7 separate regions of the Homo sapiens genome follow, and regions 1, 2, 3, 5, 6 and 7 are each linked to region 4. Evidence: promoter capture Hi-C in 16 types of primary human blood cells and fetal thymus (Javierre and others, 2016). All regions are on one chromosome and are shown on one strand. Each heading gives the region's core, a stretch centred on a gene start or on the middle of the fragment in contact. The rest is flanking DNA. Distances are from core to core; before and after follow the strand shown.

Evidence for each region. The method cuts DNA at HindIII sites, captures the fragments that hold promoters and counts their contacts. A CHiCAGO score of 5 or more calls a contact.
Region 1: a contact is called between a fragment that was not itself captured here and the fragment with the promoter of ECT2 in region 4, in 1 of 17 cell types (fetal thymus). The highest score is 8.1, in fetal thymus.
Region 2: a fragment that was not itself captured here is called in contact with the fragment with the promoter of ECT2 in region 4 in 1 of 17 cell types (fetal thymus); the score reaches 5.5 in fetal thymus.
Region 3: the fragment with the promoter of ZNF639 here is called in contact with the fragment with the promoter of ECT2 in region 4 in 6 of 17 cell types (fetal thymus, total CD4 T cells, non-activated CD4 T cells and 3 more); the score reaches 12.7 in fetal thymus.
Region 5: a fragment that was not itself captured here is called in contact with the fragment with the promoter of ECT2 in region 4 in 1 of 17 cell types (fetal thymus); the score reaches 6.3 in fetal thymus.
Region 6: a contact is called between a fragment that was not itself captured here and the fragment with the promoter of ECT2 in region 4, in 1 of 17 cell types (non-activated CD4 T cells). The highest score is 6.9, in non-activated CD4 T cells.
Region 7: a fragment that was not itself captured here is called in contact with the fragment with the promoter of ECT2 in region 4 in 3 of 17 cell types (total CD8 T cells, naive CD4 T cells and fetal thymus); the score reaches 10.4 in total CD8 T cells.

The regions. Positions count from the first base shown.
Region 1 is chr3:179,151,679-179,155,492 of GRCh38, reverse strand. All of the region lies in intron 1 of PIK3CA (phosphatidylinositol-4,5-bisphosphate 3-kinase catalytic subunit alpha), which reads right to left. Among named protein-coding and RNA genes, the nearest start is that of PIK3CA, 5.2 kb to the right of the region's middle. The HindIII fragment of the contact is 7,610 bases long and covers 1-3,814 here.
Region 2 is chr3:179,349,082-179,353,430 of GRCh38, reverse strand. MFN1 (mitofusin 1) reads right to left here. Exons shown (of 18, transcript NM_033540.3): 3 at 1,396-1,531. Among named protein-coding and RNA genes, the nearest start is that of MFN1, 3.5 kb to the right of the region's middle. The HindIII fragment of the contact is 238 bases long and covers 1,219-1,456 here.
Region 3 is chr3:179,321,639-179,325,787 of GRCh38, reverse strand. ZNF639 (zinc finger protein 639) reads right to left here and starts at 2,757. Exons shown (of 6, transcript NM_001303426.2): 1 at 2,497-2,757. RefSeq lists enhancers at 657-756, 1,798-1,847 and silencers at 2,418-2,557, 2,588-3,027. The HindIII fragment of the contact is 4,241 bases long and covers 1,662-4,149 here.
Region 4 is chr3:172,749,451-172,753,599 of GRCh38, reverse strand. It overlaps ECT2 (epithelial cell transforming 2), which reads right to left and starts at 2,874. Exons shown (of 25, transcript NM_001258315.2): 1 at 2,743-2,874. RefSeq lists a silencer at 2,459-2,528 and enhancers at 2,639-2,898, 2,919-2,968, 3,069-3,338. The HindIII fragment of the contact is 5,304 bases long and covers 1-3,220 here.
Region 5 is chr3:180,603,451-180,607,549 of GRCh38, reverse strand. It overlaps TTC14 (tetratricopeptide repeat domain 14), which reads right to left. Exons shown (of 12, transcript NM_133462.4): 4 at 3,241-3,325; 5 at 2,943-3,072; 6 at 2,543-2,698; 7 at 1,713-1,784; 8 at 1,178-1,297; 9 at 947-1,069. Among named protein-coding and RNA genes, the nearest start is that of TTC14, 3.3 kb to the right of the region's middle. RefSeq lists a silencer at 1,804-2,059. The HindIII fragment of the contact is 437 bases long and covers 1,232-1,668 here.
Region 6 is chr3:167,738,415-167,742,733 of GRCh38, reverse strand. All of the region lies in intron 1 of SERPINI1 (serpin family I member 1), which reads right to left. Among named protein-coding and RNA genes, the nearest start is that of SERPINI1, 4.9 kb to the right of the region's middle. The HindIII fragment of the contact is 1,346 bases long and covers 1,728-3,073 here.
Region 7 is chr3:179,603,834-179,607,650 of GRCh38, reverse strand. NDUFB5 (NADH:ubiquinone oxidoreductase subunit B5) reads right to left here and starts at 2,857. Exons shown (of 6, transcript NM_002492.4): 1 at 2,712-2,857. The coding sequence starts at 2,835. MRPL47 (mitochondrial ribosomal protein L47) reads left to right here and starts at 3,013. Exons shown (of 7, transcript NM_020409.3): 1 at 3,013-3,124. The coding sequence starts at 3,027. RefSeq lists enhancers at 2,272-2,361, 2,392-2,551, 1,990-2,856, 2,732-2,931, 2,857-3,723. The HindIII fragment of the contact is 2,024 bases long and covers 389-2,412 here.

The sequences.
Region 1 (3,814 bases), core at 833-3,332, 6.4 Mb before region 4:
TCCTAATATTTTCAATCCATGGTAAGTGGAACCCATGGAGGCAAAACCCACGAATACAAAGGGCCAAATCTGTGCTCAATAAATGATCAAATAAGACTGGCACACAGCAATTTACCTGCTTTTCAGATAAAGCGTATGGCTCCTGATAGAAATATAAGAAAGTATTTTTATTTCTAAATATGATTCTATGTCACAAAGATCAGTGCTTACTGATCACCTACATTTGGACACTACAGTATGTGCTGAGGATACAATAAACACAACATTGTCTCCTCCTGTTCAAAAACATATGCCTAAAATCCTCTTCATAATAGTGCCTTATATTTTTGTTGTACTTATAAGACATATTCGTCCACTAAGCCTTGCTAACTCCTGGTGAGTTAGGAGAGTTATGATTAGAGCAAAATGATTCTATCCCTATACAGTTTTTTTCTTCACATCACAACACTGATTTCCTTGGCTTTACTATACAAATACTTAAAATCCGAAGTGTACCTGACAAGCATAGTCTGTAAGAATTCTTATAGATTTTTAAAAATCCCTAATTTATTTCAAATGGCAATGCTAGCCATCATAAAGACCCCTTTGTAACAATCGCAATAATGTACAAAAGTTGCTAAAACACAACCTCTTATAAATGAGTACAATTTAAATTATCAAGCTAACTACCAAAGTGATGCTTGAGAAATGAGTACATTGTCAGGCCAAATATAAAATATTATGCTTCTGTTAAATATAAATTTAAAATAATAATTAGTATGTGCACATTTTTTCCTAGTTTTATGCAACTTGTGATTATTTGAATTATCTCATTATGTTACTTAGCAAGCAACACATTACAATTCCTATTGTATCAATATAGAAAAAGACACAAAAATGTGTTACAATCTGTCCCCCACCATATACATATACAAAGTAGCAGTCCGAAGGGGAATTTAGTCCCTTAGGCCAGTGGTCCCCAACTTTTTTGGCACCAGGGAGCAGTTTCGTGGAAGACAATTTTTCCATGGATTGGGGAAGTGTGGGGGCGATGGTTTGGGGATGAAACTGTTCCACCTCAGATCATCAGGCATTAGATTCTCATTAGGAGCAGGCAACCTAGATCCCTTGCATGTGCAGTTCACAATAGGGTTGGTCCTTCTATGAGAATCTAGTGCCGCTGCTGCTCCGACAACAGGCAGAGCACATGTGGTAATGCTGGCCCCACTGCTCACCTCCAGCTGTGCAGCCCGGTTCCTAACAGGCCAGGGACAGGTACTGGGTCTGCTGGCCAGGAGGACCCGTTTTAGGCATCTAAACCAGAGCTCTCTAATACGTATTAGACACAGTTTCACTTTAAGAACTATTTGAAGAAAAAGATAGCTCTAAGCCACCACTTTTATTACAAACTTACAAACTTTTTATTGGAATATTTTAACTTAAAACTCCCTAAACTGTATAGGTAGAGAGGGAAAGAAAGAACACCTAAAAAGTCCTTAACCAGGATCAACTGATTCACATAATAATTAAATGTGAATAAGGTATACAGTGATAAAATATTAGTATATCCAATAGCTGAATAATCTTTTTGAATGATGGAAATCTCTAGCCTTGAAGCTGAATCCTCAGACTTTAACTATATATTGCCTCATATTTATCTTTTATATCCTAACACTTCAGTTTCCCCCATCCACAGTTTTTAATTTTTATTACAGTATTTCTTTCGAATAAGTTACTTATAAAATTCACTTTCACATAAACTTAAAGGAAAACTCAGGCAAGCAAATTTGATTTATACAAAAATAAGACTGGTAACAAGAAACTTCTGCAGAGCAATGTTTTGAGTATCCCTTATCCAAAACACTGGAGATTTCAGATTTCAGATTTTGGAATATTTGCATATACATAATGAGACATACTAGGGACCCAAGTCTAAACATAAAATTCATTTATGTTTCACATACACCTTATACACACAGGTTGAAGGTAATTTAATACAGTATTTTAAATAATTATATGCATGAAACAAAGTTTGTGTACCTTTGACCACCAGAAAGCAAACATGCCAGGTGTAGAATTTTCCACTTATGGCCGTATGTTGGCACTCAAGAAGTTTCAGATTTTGGAGCATATAAAATTTCAAATTTTCAGATTAGGGATGTCCAACCTGTATTACATTCTGTGTAAGTTTACTTTCAATATTACCAAATAAATAAAGGTGATATATATAACACAATATTAAATTTTAAAACACAGTTCCCAAGTAGAGAAAGGTATCAATAACTTCAGTCTGCTGATATCTGTAACCGCTAATCTGAAATTGAAAACATTATTTGTGCCTATGTTCTGGAATTAGTCCTGACCAGAAGACCAATTTTTCCTATATTTCTTATATCACCTGAAAATTACTAAATAATGGCTCCTGAATTTTAAGGTTTGGTGAACAGAGACTTCACCAAAATCTTTGGATTTTCTTTTATAAATCATCCTTAATTTTGTTTCCTTTTTTTAGAATGATGAAGTCTGATTTTACTTATCTTTGGAGACAGTGTAAGTTCATCAGTTTAGACTGTACCCTCCTGCATATTATTATATATGTGTGAATAGTTTGGCACTTGCTATTCTCTCTTGGTTGAAACTTCCAGGCATAATTATTTCCCAAGCAGGTTGACTAACACCTGGGTGTTTGACAGTGGAATGGGGTTCTGAGAGACTGAAACCAAATGTCACAGTGTTTTTTGGTCCCTAATCACACCTGCAGTGCTAACAGTCAGCAAAGTGGAAAATAGGATTTATTACATAAACTGTGTCCTTCTGTTATCTCAGATAAGTCCACTCATGAGATCTAACACTTCCTAAGGAGAAAGGAAATGAACATTTATTAAGCACCTGATCCAGGGCAAGAACTCTCTTGGATCTACATTATCTCATTTAATTCAACAACTCTGTTGAATAGTAATCACCCCCATTACAGATAAGAAAATCTGTCCAAAGTAATCCTGCCAGTAAGTTTAAGAACTAGGTTTTGAACCATGGTGCCTCAAATTCCAAAGCCAATACTGTTGATACTCACAGAATTTTAAGGCTAGATCACTGAGAACCATGTAGAGCACCTCGTACAATCCCTCTGTATTATACATGACACCCAAAGAGATTGAGACGTGCCCAAATGTTTGTGGTGAAACAGGGGTAAGAATTCAAGTCTCCTTATTTCCAGTGCAGTACTATATATGATAATAATCTTCATTTTTTGCGTGTGTGTGTATATGTCTGAGGTGGAATGCCACTCTATACAATTTATAACATCTCAACTGTCCCCAAATGAAATTCGTATGTGTGGCAATTTCAGGGTTGTACATTTTTAGTGACCAAAAATATTAAATGAAATTGGCAAGAATAAAAACTGGTGCTTATGAATCACTACATGTTTTAAAGAAGTCTGTCTCTACTATATTTATTTGTTTAGTCAAGTGCTGTAATGTACAGGCTACTGTGCTTGGCAATAAGAATACTACTGTACAGTATATAAGATAGGAGTCCCTATCCTCATGGAATTTACAGCCTGGTAGAGGATATGGACAAAGAAATAGGCAATTACAATGCAGTGAGGTTAATGCTATGACAGTGGGAGTACACGATGCTATGGGAACAGGAAGCAGGGATACCTAACTCAAGCTAGACTTTTCAAAGGAGGTGATGTGAAAGATGAGTAGGAGTCAACCAGTTAAAGAAGAATGGAGTGTTCAAATGTCTCAGGAAGTACAAACTGTATTTGCACAGGAGAGTATGAAAAGACCAAGGGAGCTGCAGGAGTAGGGAGGAGAAATAAACCTAG
Region 2 (4,349 bases), core at 88-2,587, 6.6 Mb before region 4:
TTTGAGACCAGCCTGGCCAACATGGTGAAACCCTATCTCTAATAAAAATATAAAAATTATGCTGGGGCCAGGCGCGGTGGCTCACGCCTGTAATCCCAGCACTTTGGGAGGTCGAGGTGGGCGGATTGCCTGGGCTCAGTAGTTCGAGACCAGCCTGGGCAACATGGTGAAACCCCATCTCTACTAAAATACAAAAAAAAAAAAAAAAAATTAGCCAGGTGTGGCAGCACACGCCTGTAGTCCCAGCTACTAGGGAGGCTGAGGCAGGAGAATTGCTTGAACCCGGGAGGCGGAGGTTGCAGTGAGCCGAGATGGTGCCACTGCACTCCAACCTGGCAACGGACTGAGACTCTGTCTCAAAAAAAAAAAAAAAAATTTAGGCTGGATGCGGTGGCTCACGCCTGTAATTCCAACACTTTGGGAGGCCAAGGCGGGTGGATCACCTGAGGTCAGGAGTTCAAGACTAGCCTGGCCAATATGGTGAAACCCCACCTCTACTAAAAATACAAAAATTAGCCAGGTATGGTGGCACACGCCTATAATTCCAGCTACTAGGGAGGCTGAGGCAGGAGAATCGCTTGAACCCGGGATGTGGAGGTTGCAGCGAGCCGAGATTGTGCCACTGCACTCCAGCGTGGGAGACAGAGTGAGACTCCCTCTCAGGGGGAAAAAAAAAATGCTGAGTTTACTTGGGAATCAAAAATAAAGATTATAATCTGGAATGCATGGAATGGCATACCAGTGCATTCAGTGAGGGTAAGAGGGGTTTCTATTAGCAAAAAGAGATTTACATAAGCTGCCTAGAAACAAGAGTTATTTGGTTCCAGAGGTTCAACGCCAGTTATTGTCAGTTCATTGGCGGAGATGCCATTACTGGGCAAGAACTCTCCTGAAAACATTTTATCTGAATTAAGGCAGTCCTAAAGTATGTTTATTGATAAGTCTTATCAAAGCAGGAGATTTGAAAGAATTTCTAGAAAGTCCTTGGAAATAGTTATCTCAGACAAGAGCCTCTTTCCTTCTAGGCCTGTCTAGGTATGACAAAAGTGATTTCATCCTAGCTTCTGAAACTTTCACATAATCAAGTAAACTTAAAAGAGTAAAACACAAAGTATGCTTATCATTTATCTATATTTCCATTCTTAAAACTGTCTACAAGCCAATTCTTAGAGATGAGAATCATTAAAAGGTAAAAATATGATTGACTTTCATAAAGCTTCATTTTATACCAGGAGGTAAAATGCACAAATTCTTTCACATGCTAACAGCTTTAACATTCAACACAGGCAGAAACTTGCGGGGCTGGGGGAGGATGGGAGAAATATTACTTGTTGAAACATCAGACACAAAGCTGATTCCTGGAAACTAATCTTAGAAGTAATAATAAATAATTACCTGCCAAAAAATGCCACCTTCATGTGTCTCCGAGATAGCACCTCACCAATGATGGAAAGCTTGTCTTTATATCCTTGCATTTCTACCAGATCATCTTCAGTGGCTATTCGATCAAGTTCCGGATTCTTATATGTTGCTGCAAAATTGAAATGGCATTAGAAAAGTGATATAAATGAATATTAAGTTAGTTATATAATGGAATACCTAAGATTGTATGTATTTTTGCTTTATGTTAACATGCCACCCACAGCATCTCAATGTTTGGTAAAAGGTGCATACTCCGTGGCAATGGGTCACAAGAATCCCGCCCAAAAGAATTTCAAGAATATTAAAAGTTGCAAGGGCACAGTCAAAAGTGGACTTCTAGGTCTCAAACATACAAGCTACCCTTGAGACAAGAATACATTTCTAAAGAGAGAAACTAGAACCTAACACTGACCTATTATTGTTCCAACCTGACTGAATGGATCTTCAGATCTTGAGCTCAGAAGGGGGAGCCACATACTGAGAGAAAAAAGTGAGGTTTGAATAGGAGCCCCTCAGAAATTAAGATACAGTGCAAGGTCTCCAAGCTAGGAAAGACCTTGCTACTTTACCACGTTCTATCTGCTTCCCCCAGGGATGAGGTGAAACAGCTCACTTAACACAAAGACAGAGAAGAAAGAGAATTACAGGTTGTATCCTATCTACAGCCATACCACCCTGAATGCACTCGATCTCATCAGATTGTATCCCACTTTCACTCTTATCAGGTTTAGGGTTTAACCGCACATCCCAGCCCTCACCTCTCCTCCATGGCTGGAGGTAGTTGAAAAAGCCTGGGTTTGAAAAATAGAAAAATCTTTCAGTTTTTTTTATAACTCAGGAATAGGAGATAACCTGATGTTTACATTCTTATCACCTCTTTTTGAAGGTAAAGACATGAAGATTCATGTGGGCGTGGGGGCTCACGCCTATAATCCTAGCACTTTGGGAGGCCGAAGTGGGCAGATCCCTTGAGGTCAGGAGTTCATGACCAGCCTGAACAATATGGTAAAACACCATCTCTACTAAAAGTACAAAAATTAGCTGGAAATCACTTGAATCCGGAGGCAGAGTTTGCAGTGAGCCGAGATGGTGCCACTGCACTCCAACCTGGGTGACAGAGTGAGACATCGTCTCAAAAAAACAAAAACAAAAACAAAAAGATTCATCTGGCTATCTGAATGACCCTAATTAGAGACAAACACTGCCACTTAAAACTTCTCCAGTGCACATCCAATTAAGCTTCTCATATCTCACCATACTTTTCTAACGCATTAATAAAATATGTGCAATTTGGTGAATAACGGACAGACTGGTTTAAGTATCATTACATTTATTTTTGCTTTTCATTTTATTTTTGCTCTTGTATGTTTTTCTTGATTTATTTGCTTTGTCTCCTTTTTGCAACATTTTTACTGAGGTTCTAAAACCTGTACAACTGAATTCAGATTCTAAAGCTGTCATTTCACTAGTGCCTAGCATGATGCATGATCTATAACACGTACAATACACATTTAACTTCATTTTCACTTCCTATTATTTTTAGAAAAAAAAATATTTTTAAAAAGTCAACTGTGCCAGCTCAAATTATTTCCTAATTGGAAACAAAGATTCTATACTACTATTTTTTTTTTCTCATTCAGCATTGAATTGTGTCAAGTCTGGTGCTAGGAATACAATGAATCCCAGGCTCCTGCCCTAAAGGAGCTCAAAATATGGTAAGAGAGGGTTGGGAGAGACATGAAAAAAAAAGTTTGATTCCCAATCTACCAAAGGTTTCCCCACTGTCGCTGGAAAAATTTACAGAATCCCTCCCTTTCCATTGTATAGTTGAGAGGTGCATAATCTTTTTTTTTTTTTGAAATGGAGTCTCACTCTGTCACCCAGGCTGGAGTGCAGTGGGCGACTTCGGTTCACTGCAACCTCTGCCTCCCAGGTTCAAGCGATTCTCCCTCCTCGAGCCTCCTGAGTAGCTAGGATTACAGGCGTCTGCCACCAGGCCCAGCTAATTTTTGTATTTTTAGTACAGACAGGGTTTCACCATGTTGATCAGGCTGGTCTTGAACTCCTAACCTCAGGTAATCTGCCGATCTTGGACTCCCAAAGTGCTGGGATTACAGGTGTGAGTCAGGGCGCCTGGCCGAGAGGTACATAATCTTAAGAACCAGAAAAAATTTCAACAGTTATCTCCAAAGAAGGATTCCTGGCCGGGTGTGGTGGCTCACACCTGTAATCCCAGCACTTTGGGAGGCCAAGAGAGGTGATCATGGGGTCAGGAGTTCGAGACCAGCCTGGCCAATATGGTGAAACCCTGTCTCTACTAAAAACACAAAAATTAGTCAGGCATGGTGGCACGTGCACTGTAGTCCCATTTACTTGGGAGGCTGAGGCAGAAGAATCGCTTGAACCCAGGAAGTGGAGGCTGCAGTGAGCCAAGAACATGCCACTGCACTCCAGCCTGGGCAACAAGACAAGACTCTGTCTCAAAAAAAAAAAAAAGAAGTATTCCCTAGTAAGACATGACATTCCTCATCACCTTTAACAGTTATGAAACTCCTTTTTCCCCCTTTCCACTGCAATTCAGCCTCATTTGAGAGAATGAGATATGTCTGAGGTCTTGGCTTAACTGCTAAATTGGGGAGGAGACAAGTATAATGGTTAAATGTGGACTGCCTGATTTTTTGTCTGGGCACTTATTAGCTGTGTGATCTTGGGCAAACTGTTTAACTTTTCTTTGACTTCGTCTCTTCATCTTTAAAATGACAGATGGTGGTGATGAAAATTAAATGAACTATTAACATAGCTATTTCTCATCACCTAGTGGTGATGAAAATTAAATGAGCTATTAATATACTAAAGTTCTTAGTTGTTATTAATACCATTTAATTTTCCCCTTCTGGAGGTTAGAAAGGGGTTTTATTCATTATGGT
Region 3 (4,149 bases), core at 1,508-4,007, 6.6 Mb before region 4:
TGCCTCAGCCTCCCAAGTAGCTGGGACAACAGGCGCCCGGCTAATTTTTTGTATTTTTAGTACAGACGGGGTTTCACCGTGTTAGCCAGGATGTTCTCGATCTCCTGACCTCGTGATCTGCCCGCCTCGGCCTCCCAAGGTGCTGGGATTACAGGCGTGAGCCACCGCGCCCGGCCTTTTCAGTTTATTAAGCATTTTCCTAACCCTTATTCTATTTCATCTTCAAAATGGTCCTGTGCGGTACATGGAGGAGTTACTATCAAACCCATTTACATTTTTACTGATGTGGAAACAGCCTTAGTGAAAGTTAAGTCAACTAATAAGTGGGAGAACCAGAGATGAAAATGCATGCACATCTTGCTTCCAGTTCTTAGCTACCAGTTGGGAGAAGGGGAACAGAATAGCCTAAAGAAACAGACAACCATGAAATGTACAGAAATGATACCAATATATAAAATACCTCACCTCGCCGGGTGCAGTGGTTCACGCCTGTAATCCCAGCACTTTGGGAGGCCGAGGCGAACAGATCACCTGAGGTCGGGAATTCAAGACTAGCCTGACCAACATGGGGAAACCCCGTCTCGACTGAAAATACAAAATTAGCCGGGCGTGGTGGCACATGCCTGTAATCTGAGCTACTCGGGAGGCTGAGGCATGAGAATCGCTTGAATCCGGGAGGCGGAGGTTGTGGTGACCCGAGATCACATCATTGTCCTCCAGCCTGGGTAACAGGAGTGAAACTCTGTCTAAAAAAGAAAGAAAGAAAGAAAAAAGAATAAAATCAAACGCCTCACCTAACAATGTAAACAATCATTCCTTGAGTAACCATCTCAATTCACTGCATTCAAAAATCAAAAAGAGAAGAGCTATTACGATTCATATAGCCCAAAGCTTCACACTTCATGTTCTAAATACTCTAAAAGTATCAGGGAGAACACTGAAAACACTCAGCCGAACATGTTAAGTAGTCTCTTGTTATTTCAGAATGCATCTCAAGTTCTTTGCAACTTGAAGAATAAAAGTAAGAAAAGGAAACCAAGCGTGGTATTAAAATCAACGTTGCAAGCTGGCCTGGATTCAGGCTGTTAGGTGAGAGGAGGAGGCACACGGATCAGGAAGGGTCTGACTCCTACTTAGGGCCGAACGATAACCAAATGTCTATCGGACTTCCTTTCAGCACAATGGTGATGCCTACTCAAGACCAAAAATGCTAACCATCCTTCATTTTAGCAATCATTTTTATGTGCCTTTTGTGTGCATAACAGCCTTGAAAAAACTTAGCTTTCTACTCAAGGATGTCATAAACATTTGCTCACTAGTCTTCTTAGCAGGAAGATTCTGAATCACAAGCAACCTATCACAGTCCCCCCTCCCTCTGAAATACAAACGACATATGTAACACGTGTCACTGCAGAAAAATCAGAAAAATGTTTAAAAATTTTTTATATCACCTAGAAACCAACATCTTTCCACCTGTCATTTTTTTCAACCAACAAGAAAGTCTATGCACAAAATAGAATACATACAACAGGCAGTCAGCAATCATCAAATAGATAAACGTTTCAAAAGGCCTTTCATGCAATGTATATTCTTCCTAATTGCTGTAAGACGTCTTTACAGTAAATAACTCCATTTTTAACGAGTTTAAAAAGAGTTAAGCTTTCTTTTTCGTTCTCATTAAAATAAGCATATGCTTTAAATTGTAAAAGAATTGAAACAAAAACATGTTGCAGGAGAGCCTGAACTAGAATCCACTACATGTCCAACGTGGAGGCAGTCTTTACTGCAATATCACACGGTCACTAAATACTTGATTCGCTATTTTTCAGTCCGGCATAAATCTTTCTCTTCGAAAAAAACAAAAAAGGCATAAACTGCTTCAAATGATTCGTTTCCCTAGACAGTACTTAAAGACAAAACCAAAAAAGGGGGTTTCTAAGCACCGTCACACGAGTGAGGCGACTCTCAGGCTGGAGGCTTTGGGCGCCAGCATCGACGCCTGCTCTCCGCGGCTACAACTCGTTGCGCGAGCCCGGGGATTCGCCGCCGGAGGTCACGAAGCCGCCGGGCAGGGCCGCAGCGCCAGCGAGGACCCAGGATCGTCCCGAGCCCGGACGCAGCCAGACAAATGCCCGTCGGAGGCGCAGGGCAGAAGTCCCTGGGACTTAGCCGCCTCCACCCCGGCGCCACGCACCAGCTTCGCCCGGGCCCAGAAGCCGGCGCCAAGGAGACTTCCAAGCCCCGACACCAAAGGTTCCGTAAAGACAACGGCAGCAGGGGGCCGAGGGGAGCCCGGCCAAGGCGTCCTGCGCAGGGGGTGGAACTGCCTTCGGGATGGGGGAGGGGAACGCCATCCCGCCATATAACGAAGGCAGAGTTTCCGTATAAAGGGAGCTCCGGTCTCTCCCGCCCTCTCCCGTTAGAAGATGCGCCCGCACGCCCGCGTCCCCTGGAGCAGTCCAGCGCCCGACCCACCCGCTCCTCCCTCACACTCACCAGTCAGTCCCCCGAGGCCCTCCCGGCCGGCCCACGCAGAGGCGGCGGCGGCCGAGAGCGCAGGCGGAGGGGCCGCGCGGTCCTTCCCGCGGACGCACGGCGGCGGGCAGCGCTGCTCCGGCCCTAGCGCTCCCGGACGCTGTGCTGGGCCGACCCCTCTCCCTCCCCGCGCGCCCCACGCCCTGAGCGCCAGGCCCCTGGCCTAGGCTCCGCGGCCGCACTGCCCTGGCCGCCACGCTCCGCGCCTGCGCCGCGCACCTCAGGGGCCCGCCGAGAGGGCGGGGAGGTGACGAGGTGAGGTGGGGGCAGGGAGCGGGCTGCGCGAACGCACCGCACACGCGGCCTGGGAGGGACCACCGGCCCGCAGCCCCGGGGGAGGCCCAGCGGCCCGCGCCCCCTGCCGGAGGCCTTGCGCCGCCGCAGTCTCCTTCTGGGCGGGGAAGAGCCCCTCCCGAGCCCCGAGGGCGATCCCACCCTCTAGGATTACTCCACGCCAGGCGGCCAGCGAATTTATCCCGCCCGCCTCCACCGCCCCTTCAAGCCCTGGGGAACTGGGAGAAACGTGGCGCGCAGCGGCACCTTTCCCACGCTGCTCCTCAAGGGAAAGGACGCGAGTGGTCTTGCCCAGGTTAGGCAAGGCAGATGGCATCTCAGACCCCGAAGTGTGCCAGCCGCCTGTTGGGGACAGAGAGGCCGAGGACCTCGTCACGGTTTTACTGAGGCCACACCAGAGAACCACCTAGGGCTAGGATGCTGCCCTCAGGGCAAGAGGGTGAAACCTGAAGACTGCGAGTCGTTGTTGAGTTTCACCCGATTCCTTGGCTCGAGAAATAGTGGAATGAATGAGGAGTTAAGGGGGACTGGACTCGACGATTTAAGTCCTTTCTCGACTTTGACTTTCTTTGAGCAGCTGTAGAAATGATTAAATTACACGAGCATAAATAAATTTGTGAACATGGTTCCATAAATGATCTCTGTGCAAGTGTGGTGATATGTTTAATTCAGTCCTTTTGACAATGAGTTGAGGTTTTTAGTCACATTTTACAAAATGGAAAAGTAAATGTGTGAGAAGCTAAAGACTGGGTCTTAATTCATTTTGGTAGCCTAAACCCCTGAGGTTCAAACGGTTAAGAGGATGACTGAGAGCCATGTGGATTATCAGGTACCCAAGGTCACTCGGATAGTTAGGGCTGCAATGATGTCTCTTTGTTCACGTCCACTGCTTTTTCTGACAACCACATGCCAATCAACCAATCAATCGCTGGAAAGTAATAATCACAGACTTTACTCTGATCCCTTCACCATCCCCCAGGAGATAAAGCTATATTTGAAAGAGACACTACTTGTTTGTGAGGCTCAGTTTTTATGACCTCCTAAGTTTTATGTGCGTACTCAGCTCAAATAAATGCTCACGAATGCTAGTATGGCCCGAATTAAAGTTCGAAGAAATGTAGAGACATTTTTAAATCCTAGAATAGTTAGTATCTAGCACAGAACCGGGAATCGGTGGAAACCACAAGGGGGTGTCATGCCACCATCTTACCATTTTGCCTTACCACATAGCCTTGTGTCCAACAAAATCTTTATATTTCAAAATGAAGTTTTACTCCAAAACATTTTGTAGTGAAAGTAAACGCACACTCTCCCCAGCAT
Region 4 (4,149 bases), core at 1,625-4,124:
GTATAATTGGGCTGGTCCCTTGTCAGTATTTTCATAATTCTTTAAAAACACCTCTCCCCTAAAAGGTTTGACAAAACAATTATGCATGGGTGAGTGCCAATATAACTCTGGACTATGAAAGAAAATCCTTTTTTAAGTTTTCCAGGACTTAAGAAGAGTTTAAAAGCTAGACAGGGAATAAAAGGTTTAACAAGTTTTCATCAGGGTGGGTTGGGGGCTCACATCTGAAATCCCAGCACTTTGGGAGGCCAAGGCAGGAGGATCACTTGAGGGCAGGACTTCAACACCAGACTGGGCAACATAGCAAGACCCCATCTCTACAAAAAATTTAAAAATTAGCCAGGTGTGGGTGGCAGGTGCCTATAGTAGCTACTCAAGAGGCTGAGGTGGGCGAATCACTTGAATCCAGGAGTTTGAGGTTGTAGTGAGCTGTGATCCCACCACTGCACTCCAGTCAGTCTAGGTGACAGAGCAAGACCCTGTCTCTCTAAAAAAATTTTTTTAGAGATTTTTTTATCAATTTTCAATAAGTCAACTTTACTGAGAGTAAATTTCTAAATATTAGGCAAATATACAGAGGACCCACCTTTAACGAGAGCTACATGTCAGACTTTCCCCTTTCCTACTTCTTCAGATTAATAAAATATACAAATACCTTCCTCCAGAGTCTTAGCAAAGTAACAGTTTAAACTGTATGCTGTTATGTGACACTTCAAAATCAGGCAACTCAGCTTCCTGTCTCAGCCCTGCACATAGTCAGTTAAACCTCAGTTTCCACATTGGTGGAACACACATAGTACTACAACTCAAATCTAGTTAAGATGAAAACTGAATAGATGTCTTAAAGTGAACAACAAACAACTATTCTCATGTAATATTCACAATATGGATATTTCTTATGGCTTTACCATACATCCATGTCAATCATTATTCTAAGGCTCTCCAAAGGAGCGGTCCAATAGTTGTAACAGCCTTAATTTAGAATCAATGATAAATTCTATCCAGCCCTATTATTTTAAGTCTTCTACACTCAACCATTTCCAATGAAAAGGCATTAAAGTGGCTTTCATTCAAAGTCCCCTTAAAAGAATGTTTAAAAAAAAAAAAAAGTCAGGAGATGAGCTAACCTGCTTTAAGGACTGGAAGAGGAAAATCAAAAATACCATTTGAAAGGCCGGACGCGGTGGCTCACACTTGTAATCCTAGCACTTTGGGAGGCCAAGGCGGGCGGATCACGAGGTCAGGAGTTCGAGACCAGCCTGGCCAACACAATGAAACCCCGTCTCTACTAAAAATACAAAAATTAGCTGGGCTTGGTGGCAGGCACCTGTAATCCCAGCTACTCAGGAGGCTGAGGCAGGAGAATCGCTTGAACCCGGGAGGCAGAGGTTGCAGTGAGCCGAGATCGTGCCACTGCACTCCAGTCTAGGTAACAAGAGGTAGACTCCGTCTAAAAAAAAAAAAAAAACTTCTTGAAAATATTTACATTTTTCTCCTATGCCTCCCTCTTTAAGAGGGAGCACAGCAAATGATCAAAAGCAGATGATTAATAAAAGGGAGGGAGCATAGCAGATGATCGAAAGCAGATGATTAATAATTAAAATTGCCCCTGATGATACTGTATATGATCAATTTATTGCCAAAACAGCTTCAAAATGTATAGAGAAAAAGAGATGCACTACGGTAACTTGATGACATAACTAACATCCAACAGTCAGATTAGAAATGGAAATATATTAATCACTTTTTTTCAAATTACTGTATTCCAGAAGCCTTTAAAATAAGCACAATAGGATCAGTGTTCATAAACCTACACAGCTTCTCACCCAAGAACAGACCCAAGGAGCTTCTAACTAAACACACTATAACACATGCCCCCTTTTATCCCAGAGATAAAATTTGCCATGTAAACAAACATTCAAGTTTCCTTTTACTTAAATACTTTTTAGGCAATCATCTTCCAAGGTGAAGGACTAAAATGCAATCCAAGATATAATGGTGGTGTTATTAACAATAACATTACTATTAACAACTGACATTTACTTAACGCTTAATACGTGGCAGACATTGTCCTAAACCTTTTAATCTCTGCAGTAATCCTAAGAGGCAGGTACTATTATTATTTTCAATGTATGGATGAAGAAACGTAGGAACAGAGAGGTTAAGCAACTTCCCCTAAGTCAAACTGTTAGTAAGGGGTAAAAGAGGTATTCAAAGCCCGGCTAAATCCAGAGGCTGCGCCTTTAACCACTAAGCCGGACACATCTGTGCCGGGTGGCTGGGGAGGACGAGGGGCGGATGGCCTGGATTTATCTTGCAAAAACGAAAAATTAAACTTCCCGCAAAGAAGCCAGGATGAATCCTAGAATAAAACCACGGCGCACTCTGAGATAAGCCCCCAAAGGCTGCAAGTGCCGGCCCCCAAAGCCACAGGGCTGCGCGGCTTGCCAAAATCCCTTTCCCAACTCCCTCCCTTCACCCACACTCTTCTGTCCAAAAGAGCCAACAGGTGAGGGCGAAGATGCCCAGCAATACTGGGGGCTTCGGTCTCCCACTCCGCGTCAGGGCCCGGCTGCTGGGGGTGGGGTGCGGCGAGGGAGTTCCCGGATCCGGGAAGCCTGAGCTGGGGCGCTCCGGAATTCGCGGTCACTAGGGGCGGGGACGTCGACCGCAGGCAAAAGAGCCCTTGGCTCTGGAGCCGCTCGCCCACTTGCACCTCTCTCACTCACACAGAGTCCTTACCACTCTCAAAAAAGCCCTAGGAGTTCCACCTCTTCAAACGCCGACTCCTCTCACAAATACCGCCATTCCTCGCCGGCGGCCGCCACAACCGATTCAAAAACTAAGCTGCTCTCTCTAAGAGCCATGCCGATTGGCGCGTGATGTCAACCTCTTTCCCATAGGCAGGAGTCTCCAGAGGGGCGGTGATTGGTCGACGCTCTCCAAGTCCCGGCAGGCGCCGCTTGATTGGTTGTGCGTGTGTTTCAAATAAGCCCAACGACTCGGGCGTCGGGACGCCAGGAGTTTGCAGAGAAGTGCCCGGATGTGGCCAGGAGGTGGCGGTGGTGGCTCCTGAGGTCTTAAAGGAGTAGCAGGTGTTTCTGTGACTACCGCATATTTACTCAGTAAACATCCTACTTCCTGAGGAAAGTTTGGGTGGATTCTCCTCGGCCCCACCCAGCTTTTTTTTTTTTTTAAACGATACCAAATCTTTTAAGCTTAAATCAGTGCCGCCAGAGATAAATGTTTCCCTGCTGCTTGCTGTGAGCTGTAGGATTTTCCTATCGGGATGCTTTCTGCTTTAGGAATGTATTTAAATTTGAGTTAAGGGATTTTGACTTTGATGGTTGTATTGGCGTGTGGCAGGGCCAAGGACCGGTCCTAGAACTCGGACTCCCCAGGTGGACTTCAAATCAGCAGCCGCTTATTTAAATGCTATTATTTAAAGCACTGCGCTCCCATCTAGGGAGTATCGCGGGTTAGAATCAATTCTTAGAAATTAGAAAAATTCTCGGATTTTTTTAAAGATAAGCTTGAATTTGATAAAAATATGCCACGAGATTCTAGAATTTTTGGAGCCAAATTGCTTCGTCTTTGCCCCCCTCCGCCCACTAAGAACTTGTACTTTCCCCTAAAGTCTAGTCAAGAATGTATCAAGTTTTTCCTGTGATTAGCGTTGCTATTATGAAAATAATTTCTTTATTTTCTAAATATGATACCATATAACACAATCTCTTAAGAAAAATACACCCCCACCAGGTGGGTTTTCCATAGTTCCCACCTGAAGGCTAATATAAATAGAAGAAGAAAGGGGAATCAGATGCCAGAACCTAAATACCAATAAGAAGAGGCAAACGTGTACTTTGGGATGGAACACTTGTGAGCATCTCAAGCAGGTTGTGGGGACTTAACAATTTTTTCTAATTTTGTCAGGCAATCTTAGAATGCCTGAAAAGTTTATAATGCTGTCCACAAAATGAATGAAGCAATCTGGTAATTATTGGTTTCCCTGCTTGTCAGTATTTAAGTCTGACCTTCATTAAAATGCTGTGATAACTGTTACGGCAGAAAAAAAGAAAAACAGTAATTGAAATTTCCATTTGGAATGTGCTTGCGTATTTGGAAGTCGGGTGTGCCCAGCATTCCAAA
Region 5 (4,099 bases), core at 201-2,700, 7.9 Mb before region 4:
AAAGCCAAGTAAATTATTTTCCAAAATAAAATACCAAAATAATATGCTTTTTACTGTAATTTATTTCATAGACCACATAAACAGAAATCTTACTAGTAACTAAAGGTATATGTCCAATATTGGCACATTTTTGCAGTAATACACAAAAACCCATGATAAATGGGTGTCCACAAATTTAGTATGATCTTGAATTTTAGCACAGAATTATACCAGCAGGCTTTTTTCCCTAGTAGTTTATGAAAAATTATCTACAGAAAATTTTGGAAATCTTTGGAAATACCAACATACACATATATCACAATGAGCCTGTAAATAGCATAATCATTAGATGAATTTCACAAGTCTGGGTTGTGAAACACCAGAATGAGAAAGTTTGGACATAAAGCAGTCAAAAGATGTTGCAAAGTGCTTTGGGTTCTTAGAAGGAAAAAGAAATTACTATAAAACAAATACAATGGGATCACTTTTGTGTCAGTAGACTGGATATGGGAAACAAAGGACAAGTCAAAGATGAACAGTATCTCTGGCTTAGGTAACTACAGGGTATTGCTATTCACTCAGCTCAAAGACATCAATACAAGGCTATAAGACAACCACATATAAGTAGTTACTAGTTATCCACCTAGTAAGTATGTAAAAAGCTGCTCCAATCATTAAATAGAAGTTCCTATAAATTATAAACGAATATTGCAAAATTTAATCAACTTGGAATTTGTGATCACAAACAGGAATGACTACACAAATAGTATAGTCATTAAACCAAAAACTTTTGAGTATATTATCTAGGAAAAGAGTATTTGCCTAATCTCTTGTACTTTCCCATTTATTTATTGAAACCAAGAGTGTTATAAATTAAGTGCTTAAGAAACTATTTCCTTAAGTTCAAAATTTTTTAGTGGTTGGTTGAACATTAGACCTCCACTATTAAACAAAATCTGATACTTACTGTCCTCCTCTCTCTACAAGTGTCTGGCAGAGGTATTTTCTTGCATTTCTGTGAGTTGGACAGTTTTCTAATGCAAGCTCAAAATCTTCTATTGCTTTGTTCAAACTTCCTTTTGTCGCATATCTAGAGACATGAAACAAAGATAGAGGGCTGTATCTCACAAGCTCTTCATAAATCTTGTTCGCATTTACCTGGTAAACATTCCTTAAAATCCATGTATGATTCACTTACAATGCTCCACGAGCTACCAAAGCTTCCACGTTTTGTTTGTCTATTTCCAAAGCTTTATTGTATTCATTCATAGCATCCACATGGCGTCCAACTTTAAAATAGTCAACTCCGATCTTCACACTAAAAAAGACATTTGTAAAGCATCACAAACACTTCAAACAATATCTAAATAAAATGTTAGTGTGAATAAGTTTTAAAAGCAAATGTCATCAAACTTGGCAAAATATTTAGTTTTCAGAGTACTCACAATATACCTAAGGAACGTTCTTCTGCCTTTGGACATTTTCACAACAAATATTGGTGAAACCTAGATATCAATATACTAATTCCTTTTGAGAAAACTGAAATGCTGAGTAAAACTTATCTGTTAAGTGTAAAATGTAAGACTACTTACATCTATAAAAGAAAAGCTCATGTCAAAAAGGCATCACTTTAATGCATCTCAAATTTGTCTTATTGATGATATAAGCATGCTTGCCTTGCCCTAAGCTTTTAGACTAGATATAATGCAATTGTTGAAAGACAGTCTTCATACCATTTTAAAGCCCAAGATGCGGATTGTTTTTTTCTCAATGCAGAAGCAAAATCATCTTCAGAGAAATTTTTGCTATTAAAGAAAATAAAAATTAAAAAGTTAAACCACAAATATTTTTTAAGTAACTATACTTAACTCTGCTTGACAGGCACTCGACAGTGAAAGTATGAATCCCAAGCAAGAAATCTGCATTCTATTTACATACCAAAATCTTTGAACTTTCGAAATGATTATTATTGTTAAACAGTATTTTTCTTGGCCAGGTGCGGTGGCTCACGCCTGTAATCCCAACACTTTGGGAGGTCGAGGCGGGTGGATCACGAGGTCAGGAGATTGAGACCATCCTGGCTAACACGGTGAAACCCCAACTCTACTAAAAATCAAAGAAAAAAAAATTAGCCAGGCGTGGTGGCGGGCACCTGTAGTCCCAGCTACTTGGGAGGCTGAGGCAGGAGAATGGCGTGAACCCAGGGGCAGAGCTTGCAGTGAGCTGAGATAGCGCCACTGCACTCCAGCCTGGGTGACACAGTGAGACTCCGACTCAAAAAACAAAAACAAAAAACAAAAAAACCCAGTATTTTTCTTTAGCATACACACAAAATTCTTATAAAAAGTTTCTGCATCCTTCTCTACTTGGTTACATGGTACACATATTAATCACTGATAAGACAGTCCAGTCCAGAAGATGGGATCACCTGGTTCATTCAACCTTTGGCATATGCCTGCTACTAGGTGGCTTAGGATGGTAAAATACGTCCTTCAGCTAAACGCAGCTTCTGAGCTTACTGCCACTCCCCTCACCATCTAAGAGTAATACTGATGTACTATACCTTTGTAGGCCTCTCATTAAAGATGGTGGATTAGATTCATCTATTCCTAGTTTTTCTAGAAGGAATTCAACTACTCCTGGATTAACAAATCCCAAGGAACTCTGCATGACATTTTCATAGGACTCCAAAGAATTGCTATTTAGCTCAACACTTCTCCTTAAAAAAATACAAACACAAAAATTGTAAAATGACTAATTTGACATTCCATTTCTAGTAAAGAAATAATATCATTTGAGGTTTAAATACTAATTCCATTTTTTGCATAAGATGGTGTGGCAATATTATGATATGGTTTCCTTTTACCAAGTCTGAAGTAATTTAACCGTTATAAAAATGTGGTATTCCTCAATCCAAGAGACTTTTGTAATGAACTGTTGTTGAAATAATACGGATAAATTACCTGTAGTATAAAGGAAGCTCTTCAGAGCTAATTACACCTAATTTAATACCAGATAGGTGTGGTGGAAGAGAAGAGCTATACAGAGATACTGCTAGCTTTTCATGGTATCTGTCAATATCCTTGATTCCAGCTTAAGAAAAAAAAAAAGAGAACTAAGCTGATTAGTAAGAAAATGTAAACTAACATAAAAAATATAAACTTTCCCAAACACTACCCTCTTAGACTGTATTTTTTTAAATTAATAAAAACAAAAATTCAACAATCATTACTTTTTTATTAGTATGATGAAACTAATCACCTCGAATGATGTCACCAGTTTGGTAATATGATAAAGGATCCCCATGGTTACTGTGAGAAGGCACATCTCTTAAGGGACAAAGAGCCTGTAATGAGAAGTATTTTAAAACACCAGACATTTCAAGCTTTGATAAGAACAGTGTCTTCTTTTATCTTAGTTGTTTGGTATGAAACAGCTAGTAGTTGAACAACCTAAAGTAAAAATTTAAATAAGGATTTAGTTAAAAGTAATTTCCGTGTCCAAACACAGTAAAATATGTTTGCTGGTTCAGTTAAAAAACTAAAATCTCATGAAACTTTCCATTAGTTTAGGAACCAAATATGATGGCTTATGACAGTATACAACATGCATCAAAAACAAACTAAAATTTGTCTAAAAGGTATAAGGATTCCAGTGAAAATGAAATGCCAATTCTCCAAAGTATTTTGTCTGTTATCCAATCTGTAATACCTTCTGCTTTTCTTCCTTTTTATCTGCCTGGATAGATGGCAAATACCCAATCTTTTATCGTGACACATTAGTTTAAATTCAGGACTATCCATCTTGGGCAAAGTATCTTAATATAATGTACAAACCACTTACATTTAATTATTGTAAATATATAAATGAAACTTCTCTCCAAATTATCCACATGAAAATATACAATGCCAAATATTAACTAATTAAGAATACATATGTTCAACTACAAGAAATAAGTCTGAATATCAATCAACCTCACCACGTCCACTGATACCTCTTTGAGCATTTAGAAAAGAACACTGTGCCTGCCAACCAGTTTAAATTTAAAAAATCCCAAAAACCAGAAATGGAGGGAGAAACTGGGTAACTTACACTAATTTTTTTAAACTATTTTTCTCCA
Region 6 (4,319 bases), core at 1,151-3,650, 5.0 Mb after region 4:
GACAGTTATCCAAAAGTCATTCTCAAACCTTTGTTCCCCTGCTCCATCTACCACAGAAGCCAAAAGTCTTTGATATCTCCACTTCCATTAAAGCTAGGGCAGCCATATGACATGAGCCAGTTAGTGCACAGTGGACATCTGCCGGGGATCTTTGGGAAAGCTTTTATTTCCTGATTAAAAGAGAAAGACTCAACAGGAACAACTGTTTCTCATTCTTCCTTCTTTGAATGACAGTGTGATATCTGGATCAACAGAGGCATCTGTCTTACAGCAAGCACAAGAGAAATCACAAGGACAAAATTCTGACAACATCGAGCCTGTAAACAAAAAGCAAACAACTACTCTCCTCAGACTTCTTGTTCTGGAAAAATAAATCCCTATTGTTTTATCTCATTGTGCATAAAACTTGTAGCTGAAAGCGTTTCTAGTTGATCTGTACTTTACAATTATTTTTTAAATTGTTAATCACTTTTGGGCCATGCAATGTGAGGAAAAATTTGCTTTTAAGATAATCCTGGATAAGATTTCTTTCTCTCCTTTTCAAAATGTTCAATTTTATATTACTAATTATTAATTAAATCTGCTATTATATTAACAAATAGCTATTATTTACACCTTTAAAGTTATTGGCATTTTAAATTTTTTTCCTTATTTATTTTTTAAATTTTAAGGCTTTTTCTTCTTATCTAGATAACTAGTTATTTGCATTTTTAAAAGAACATATCAGAAACTCTGAAATACAAAAACAAACTTTGTTGCCTTAGATTTAGTTAATATACCTTGTGCACAAAATCTCATAATATAATTTTTTTAAAAGTTTCGTAATTTACCAAAGCCAAAAATTATTCTATGACATTACTGGTATTATATAATTTCATCTGGTATTGTATGTCAAAGGACATAAGATATAAGATACTATTTAACCTGCCACAGACATTGAATAAGGGATTTAACATCTGTAAGCAATTTAGGAGACTAGGTACAGGTTTCTTAACTGGAAGGTTGAATATATCTCAAAAACACTAATTGCTTCAATGATTCTAAATTGCTTCGTGAAGTACACAACAATTAAATGCTCCAATAACTGATTTAATTCAAGTAAAGGCAAAAATTATACACCACAATATGGTATCTCTAGCATACTACTAACGGGTATAAAAACAATAAAATTAGCTAGCTCTTCAAGTTAGAGCTGGTTAAAAGACCTCAAAGCAACAAAATCTAGGTTATCAAGAAAATGACAGAAGCAATCCAATGTGGGTAAAATATCAGAAATGTTTTAGTGGGCTCTTTGGGGTCTGTTCAAGAAAAGCCAAGATGCTAGGAGTGGACTACAAGTTGATAGGTACTCATTGAATTGCCTGGCTGTGCTATAGAAATCACTGTGTGACATTTGAGCTACTCTTACTGGGAATCCTGGTGTGAGATATACCTGGGAAAAACAATACAGTTTAACAAAATAAGGTTATTAAATGAAAAACATTTCATCTGTTTTCCTTCCCACATTAAGAGCTGTGAGGAGCTCAGAAGTCTCCTTTCCCAGGCAGAACCAGAAGGGGGCCTCAAAGCAGTGGCTGAAACTGAAGGTACCCTGTAAGCTTCCACCACCAAGCTATACACAGAAGACCAACACTGAGCACTGTCAATGCCAAGTCTCAAAACTCATTCGTTCTTCATGATGGCTCAGAGATGACAAATACCTGTATAATTCAGGTACAATGTAAGCTTTACTAAGGTCTCTCAATGCAGCCTTTTCACTGAAAATGGAACATTTACAGCCAGTTAAACTTTAGTTAAGGCCTCATATTACATTCATCTATTTATTTTTCTCTATTTGTTAAGAAAAAAGTAATGGAAATCGTGTAGGGGAGGGGAGGTATTACATAAAAGCACATCTTTAAATCAGCAGAGTTCTAGAGGCAAGGAGAGAAAAGGACCACATAAACCCCAAATAGCATCTAATGAATAAATTCATGTCTGAAGCATGCGCCCATGCACGCACACACACACGCACACAAGCGCGCGCGCAAGTTTGCAGTTAATAACAAAATTTGTTCTACTCATTTAGAAATCCAACAAGATAGCAATATTTATATTTAGCTGTAATATAAGCAACCGTTGTTGGCAGAGGGCTGAATTTGGTACTAACACAGATGTCTAAGAAAAAGTCATTTTTCTAGTTGTATTTGTTTGCAAAATGATGTTTCATTATAGATTACCAAATAGTTATCCAAATTGTTACTACTTACCAAGTATGAACTATGTAAAAGGATTCTCAAAATGAATACAAACGTCAATGAAACTCAGAGTTAGCTCTAAAGATACTAAGTATCTGGTGAGAAAGATAGTATGAACTAAGTTTACTCTACACAAGGCACAGTGCTAATCATTAAGAATAATATCAGCAAGGCATGGTGGTTCACACCTGTAATCCCAATTCTTTGGGAGACCAAGGTGAGAGAATTGTTTGAGGTCAGGAGTTTGGACCAACCTGGGCAACACAGTGAGACCCTTATCTCTATAAAAAGTTAAAATTAGCTGAGCATGGTGGTTCTTGCCTGTAGTCTTAGCTACTGGGGAGTCTGCGGTGTGAGGAGTGCTTGAGCCCAGGAGTTCAAGGTTACAGTGAACTATGATCAGGTCACTGCATTCCAGCCTGGGCGACAGAGTCAGACCCTGTCTCAGAAAAAAAAAAAGGCGGCAAAAAAAAAAAGAAAAAGGCAGGTTAATTATCAGTTCTAAGCAAGCCAATTTATATAAATCAACATGAAGGTAAAAGTAAACAGAAGATAGTTAAATATGTGCTACAATTAATTTTACTACTAAAAAACTATATACAATTAACTAGAATTGTATAGGTCTTATCATAATGAAGTAAAAATTACATTAGATTCTTAATTCTAACACCAATCAGATTAATTTGTTTCTAGGTCAAATGCAAAAAACAACTAATGACCAACTCCACACATGCTTAAACAAAATCAGTCTATTTTTTTTTTGGAAGAAATAATTAGAAAAACAGAAGAGCAAATTCAGTTTTTATAGAATGAAATATGGTTTCTACAGATAAGCTTCAACAAAGGTATAACTCCAGGGCCTTGAGGTTAAATGGTGGTTGAGCCCTGGGTTTTTCTGTCTGTGAAATTAAGACCTTAAGTGCCACCAGTTGCAGACTCCTTTACCCTCGCCTATATATCCTATCTCTGAGATGAATTTAGAAATGCTGGCACTCAAATCTGTAATGTATTTGCAGCGCACACAGTGTGAATCCAATTGTGCTCAATCAACACTTTTGCAAAGGCAAACTAGCATAAAGACATTCTCAGAAGGACTAATGTGTAAGCAATCATTCTGTGAGGTCAGCTGACTCTGTCTATCAAAGCGCAAACTGTCTCAATGTGTGCATTACAGAAGTATTGTCCAATGTCCAATGGTTCTAATTCAGTAACTGGTTACTCAATTTCTTTATGCTGAATATGACATAAAGTGCTCAGGACTAACAGGAGATAGAAAAGAAGTACATGGTCTCTAAGAGTTAATAACGTAGTTACTTAAAACACACCTTCCAAATTTTAAAGACTAAATTCTTACAGGTTTAAGATTTAAAAAAAAAAAAAAAAAAGAAACAACAAAAAAATCTCTCCCTTATTTGTGTACGTTAATTCTGATCCCAAAAGCAGTGTTTAACCTTTGGAATTTGCTTAATTAAATAAATGGGCTCTTGCTCATCTTAGTGTCTGGTTCAAGTACCTTTATTATTTTAAAGGGGCAAAACATCAGTTTAGGTATTTACTTTTTGATATTTTGTCCAAATAATGTTTCACTTAGAAGTTAGTGTATACAGGTAGGATTTTTATGGTTAATAATCCATGAATATTCAAAATCTAATGAATACCAGTTTGATTCCAGTTAAAATGGCAATTGACTGGAATCAGACTGGTATTCATTAGATTTTGAATATTTATGGGTTATAAAAGCATAAAAAAGGAAGGTTAATCATCCAAAATTTATTCCAGTAAAAATTGCCATTTTAACTGGAATCAGACTGGTATTCATTGGATTTTGAATATTCAATTTTACTTAGAAAAGTAATGTATCCCAGTATGAATACAGGCCTCTACAAATTAATGACTGGGGGAGAAAAGGTCATGGAATCATGGATTATAGGAATTTAACAAAAAATATAAAATCTTTTTTCTCTTTTGCTAAAGGTGTGTTTCTCAAGTAGTTTTCTTTATATCTATTCCCCTGTATCCTTCTTTACCAAAACCATTTGATCTTGAACCTTTAAGTCTTGCTCTTTTGTGCTGCATGCATCA
Region 7 (3,817 bases), core at 151-2,650, 6.9 Mb before region 4:
AGGAATGTATTTAATACCACTGAACGGTGCACTTAAAAATGGTTAAAATAGTAAATGTTATGTGTACTTTACCACAATTTTTTTAAAGGCTACTGCTGCCAGGCACTGTTGATTTTTTCCACTCACTCTTCACAACTACCTTTTGAGGCAGGTTAAAATTCTCATCTTTTTTAAAGAGGAGGAAATGCAGGTTATGAGCAATTAGGTGTCTTCCACTTTAGCTTCCAAGATGTGATGATCACAGACATGGCTTCTGAATTCTAGAGCCAGAATTTGAAGATAGGCAGTCTATCTCCAGAAAAAACAAAACAAGACAGGCTCTCTACTACATTAGAGCTTACATTCTTGTAGGGACAGATATAAACAACCATGTAAGAGATTAAAAGCTTTCATATCACAGTGACAGATGCAAAATACCTTTGAAAGCAGGTACACAGCTGAAAACACAGTAACCTTTAGTAAACATAGCTATTAGAACCTTCCCTGCTCTGATTGGAAAGGGCGCAGAACACGGTAATGATCCTTTGAGAACCCCAAGAAAGGGCAATAATGTGGAAAGAGAAACTGGGGGTGAAATTTTGCTGCAGTTTATCTCCAGCTGGATTTGATTGAATACTACCAGAGCGAGTATTTGAAGGATTTGTATTTGGCTATATGAGAATATCTGTAATCAGAAATGGCTTATAAAGGGATTTTCATCAAGGAATGTAGTTTTGTAACAAGTTCAAATTCCTGCTGGAAATTTGTTAAATACCACTGGTTCTTTGCATCATGTTTCCAGCAAATCCCTATGTATATTGCCTCATCCTGTGGAGTGGCATAATTCAAATTAAACTGGGAGAATAGGGGTAAAAAGAGAACAAGATATTTTGAGGCTGGAGACAACTTTCTGACTTTAAGTGTTTCACTTCCTCTTTACCTGCTTCTATTGCACAGGGCAAATAGCTTACAGTATATATCTAATGAAGAGGATTAAATAAATTAATACTTTAAACCCTTAAAATGATGCTTGAGGTCAGGTGGGGTGGCTCACGCCTGTGATCTCAGCACTCTGGGAGGCCAAGGCAGGTGGATCACGAGGTCAGGAGTTCGAGACCAGCCTAGCCAACATGATGAAACCCCATCTCTACTAAAAACACATAAAATTAGCCGGGCATGGAGGCGTGCAACTGTAATCCCAGCTACTCAAGAGGCTGAGGCAGGAGAATCGCCTGAACGCAGGAGGCAGAGGTTGCAGTGACCCAAGATCACGCCATTGCACTCCAGCCTGGGCAACAGAGCAAGACTCCGTCTTGAAAAAAATAAAAATAAAAAAGGATGCTTGACACGTAACAGGTGCTCAGTAAATGTTGGCTATTATTTAGTGACACATTATTTAATAATTGAGTCAGTTTCCTCATCTGTAAAATGAAAATAACATTGTAATTTCTTTGCAGAGTCTCTGAGATAATAAAGTACACTGAATATCAAGCATTTGATCTTTGCTATGATTATTCACACCGCCATGATGCAACTCACTGTCTCCAAGGAGGTCCAAATAGCCCTATTAAGACTGTATTGGTCAGGTGCAGTGGCTTACGCCTATAATCCCAGCACTTTGGGAGGCTGAGGTGGGCGGATCATTTGAGGTGAGGAGTTCGAGACCAGCCTGGCCAACATGGTGAAACCCCATCTCTACTAAATATACAAAAATTAGCCAGGCGTGGTGGTGTGCACCTGTAGCCTCAGCTACTGGGGAGGCTGAGGCGGGAGAATCGCTTGAACCCGGGGGGTGGAGATTGCAGTGAGCCAAGATGGTGCCACTGCACTCCAGCCTGGGTGACAGAGTGAGACTGTCTCAAAAGAAAAAAAAAAAAAGACTGTATTATGACTTTCCTGAGACCTAGGCACTTTTGCCTTCAAGGGCCCCTTCGTCTAAGTTATTAAAAATAATATTTTATGACTGCATTGGTATAAAACGAACATAATACAGGCTGGATTCGTTATCATATTCATAAACATTATGGTTTTTTTAAAAAAGAAATTTAAATTAAAAGACTTTCGTAGACCCCTAAAACTATCATGGGTTCAGGCAGGAGAATCGCTTGAACCCAGGAGGCGGAGGTTGCAGTGAGCCAAGATCGCGCCACTGCACTCCAGCCTGGGCAACAGAGTGAGACTCTGTCTCAAAAAACAAACAAACAAAACAAAACAAAACAAAAACCTCTCTTCCTCCCCAGTTCATCTGCATCTCATTATTGGGCGGCACGGTACTTACTGTGCCTAAAGAATAAGTTGGCCCTGAGCCTCTTTACCTGTCTACATATTACCTGTCTTCATATTCCTTAGCATAGGTGGGCTTCTCGGCAAGATGACTTTGCATCTGTGGGACTAGAACCTAGCCTTTGGGCAGGTGGAACGCAACAATAAGCTTGTGCCCTAGAGATACAGATCTCAGCTCTATACCTTTCTAGACTCAGCTTCATCCGCAAATTAGCATTAATTGGGATGGTGAATAACAACGTTTTAGAAATGCTAATAATGTAAACACGATCTATCTGGCTACTTCAGGAAAACCCCTCATATAGCTCGTGCTCCGTCTCTCCTGTCAAGCCCCAAGCCCACAACTTGTCCCGGCTCCCTCCGGATCCCACCAAGGTCACCCTGGAAGCGTCCTCCCTTTTCTCGCCCCGCACCCGCTTCACGCCCGTTCTCCCTAGGCCAGCACCCACCAGCAGCCTTCGGAAAGCCACGAGTGAGGAAGCCCCCAAATCCGAGGCGAGTGCCAAGGGGCCGGCCAGACAGAGCTGCCACCGCAGTAACCGAAACCCGCCGCAACAAACTCATGGCCGCCATGGCTACTACGGGCAGGAGGAAGAAGGGAGGCGGGTCACGGAAGCTGAGAGAGCCAATTTACCAATGAGGACAAAGGCAGGATGTGGCCATCTTAAGTGAGGGCAAGTTTTCTATTCTCCTCACCGCCGGCTTGAGACGCCGGAAGTGACGCTATCGTTGGCGGAAACGCGTTTTGCCAGTTATGCGAAAACATGGCTGCGGCCGGTTTGGCCCTTCTTTGTAGGAGAGTTTCATCCGCCCTGAAATCTTCCCGATCGTTAATAACTCCTCAGGTCCCTGCCTGCACAGGGTAAGTGATGTATAAAGTAGGTTTGCCCACCTCTCCAACTTTGGATCTTGTTTGGTTGCCGAGATGCCGAGATGCCGAGAACAACTCAAGAATGGAACGGCCGCCTGGATGGCAGAGCCGGAGCCCACTTTGGTGAGGAGTGAGTGACCTTGGAGAAGTCGCTCACCTCCGACATTTCTATTCCTTCCTCATTTTGTTGCTGCCTGCTGTGGACAAGACAGTATATGGGGTTTGTAGATGTCCAGCATTTGTTGAAGTAAATACATCTATAAGTACAGAAGCATCCTCTTGGGCTGGGTGAGGTGCGAAAAACTTTACCGAAGATGTTTTTGTTGTGATACTCAAGTCTGTGTCAAGTTTGGATGGATTAAAAAAGAAGAGATATTTGTATTTACAGGATGTGTTACAATGAAAGTAACTGGTAACTTAGTAACTTCTTTTATTTATTTATTTTTCTTGGTCCTGGATCCAGTGAAGTATCCATTTATTACATTGGTTGCCATGACTCTTTAGTCTCTATCCGGAACAATTTCTTTTTTTTTTTTTTCTTAATGTTGTTGACATTTTGATGAGATTAGCTTTTTAAGAATCTTATTCATTTGGATTTGTCTGATTGTTTCCTCATTATAAGATTTAGGCTAAATATTTTTGGTAGGGATACAACACTTGTGATAAACTTCATTATTTAGTTTC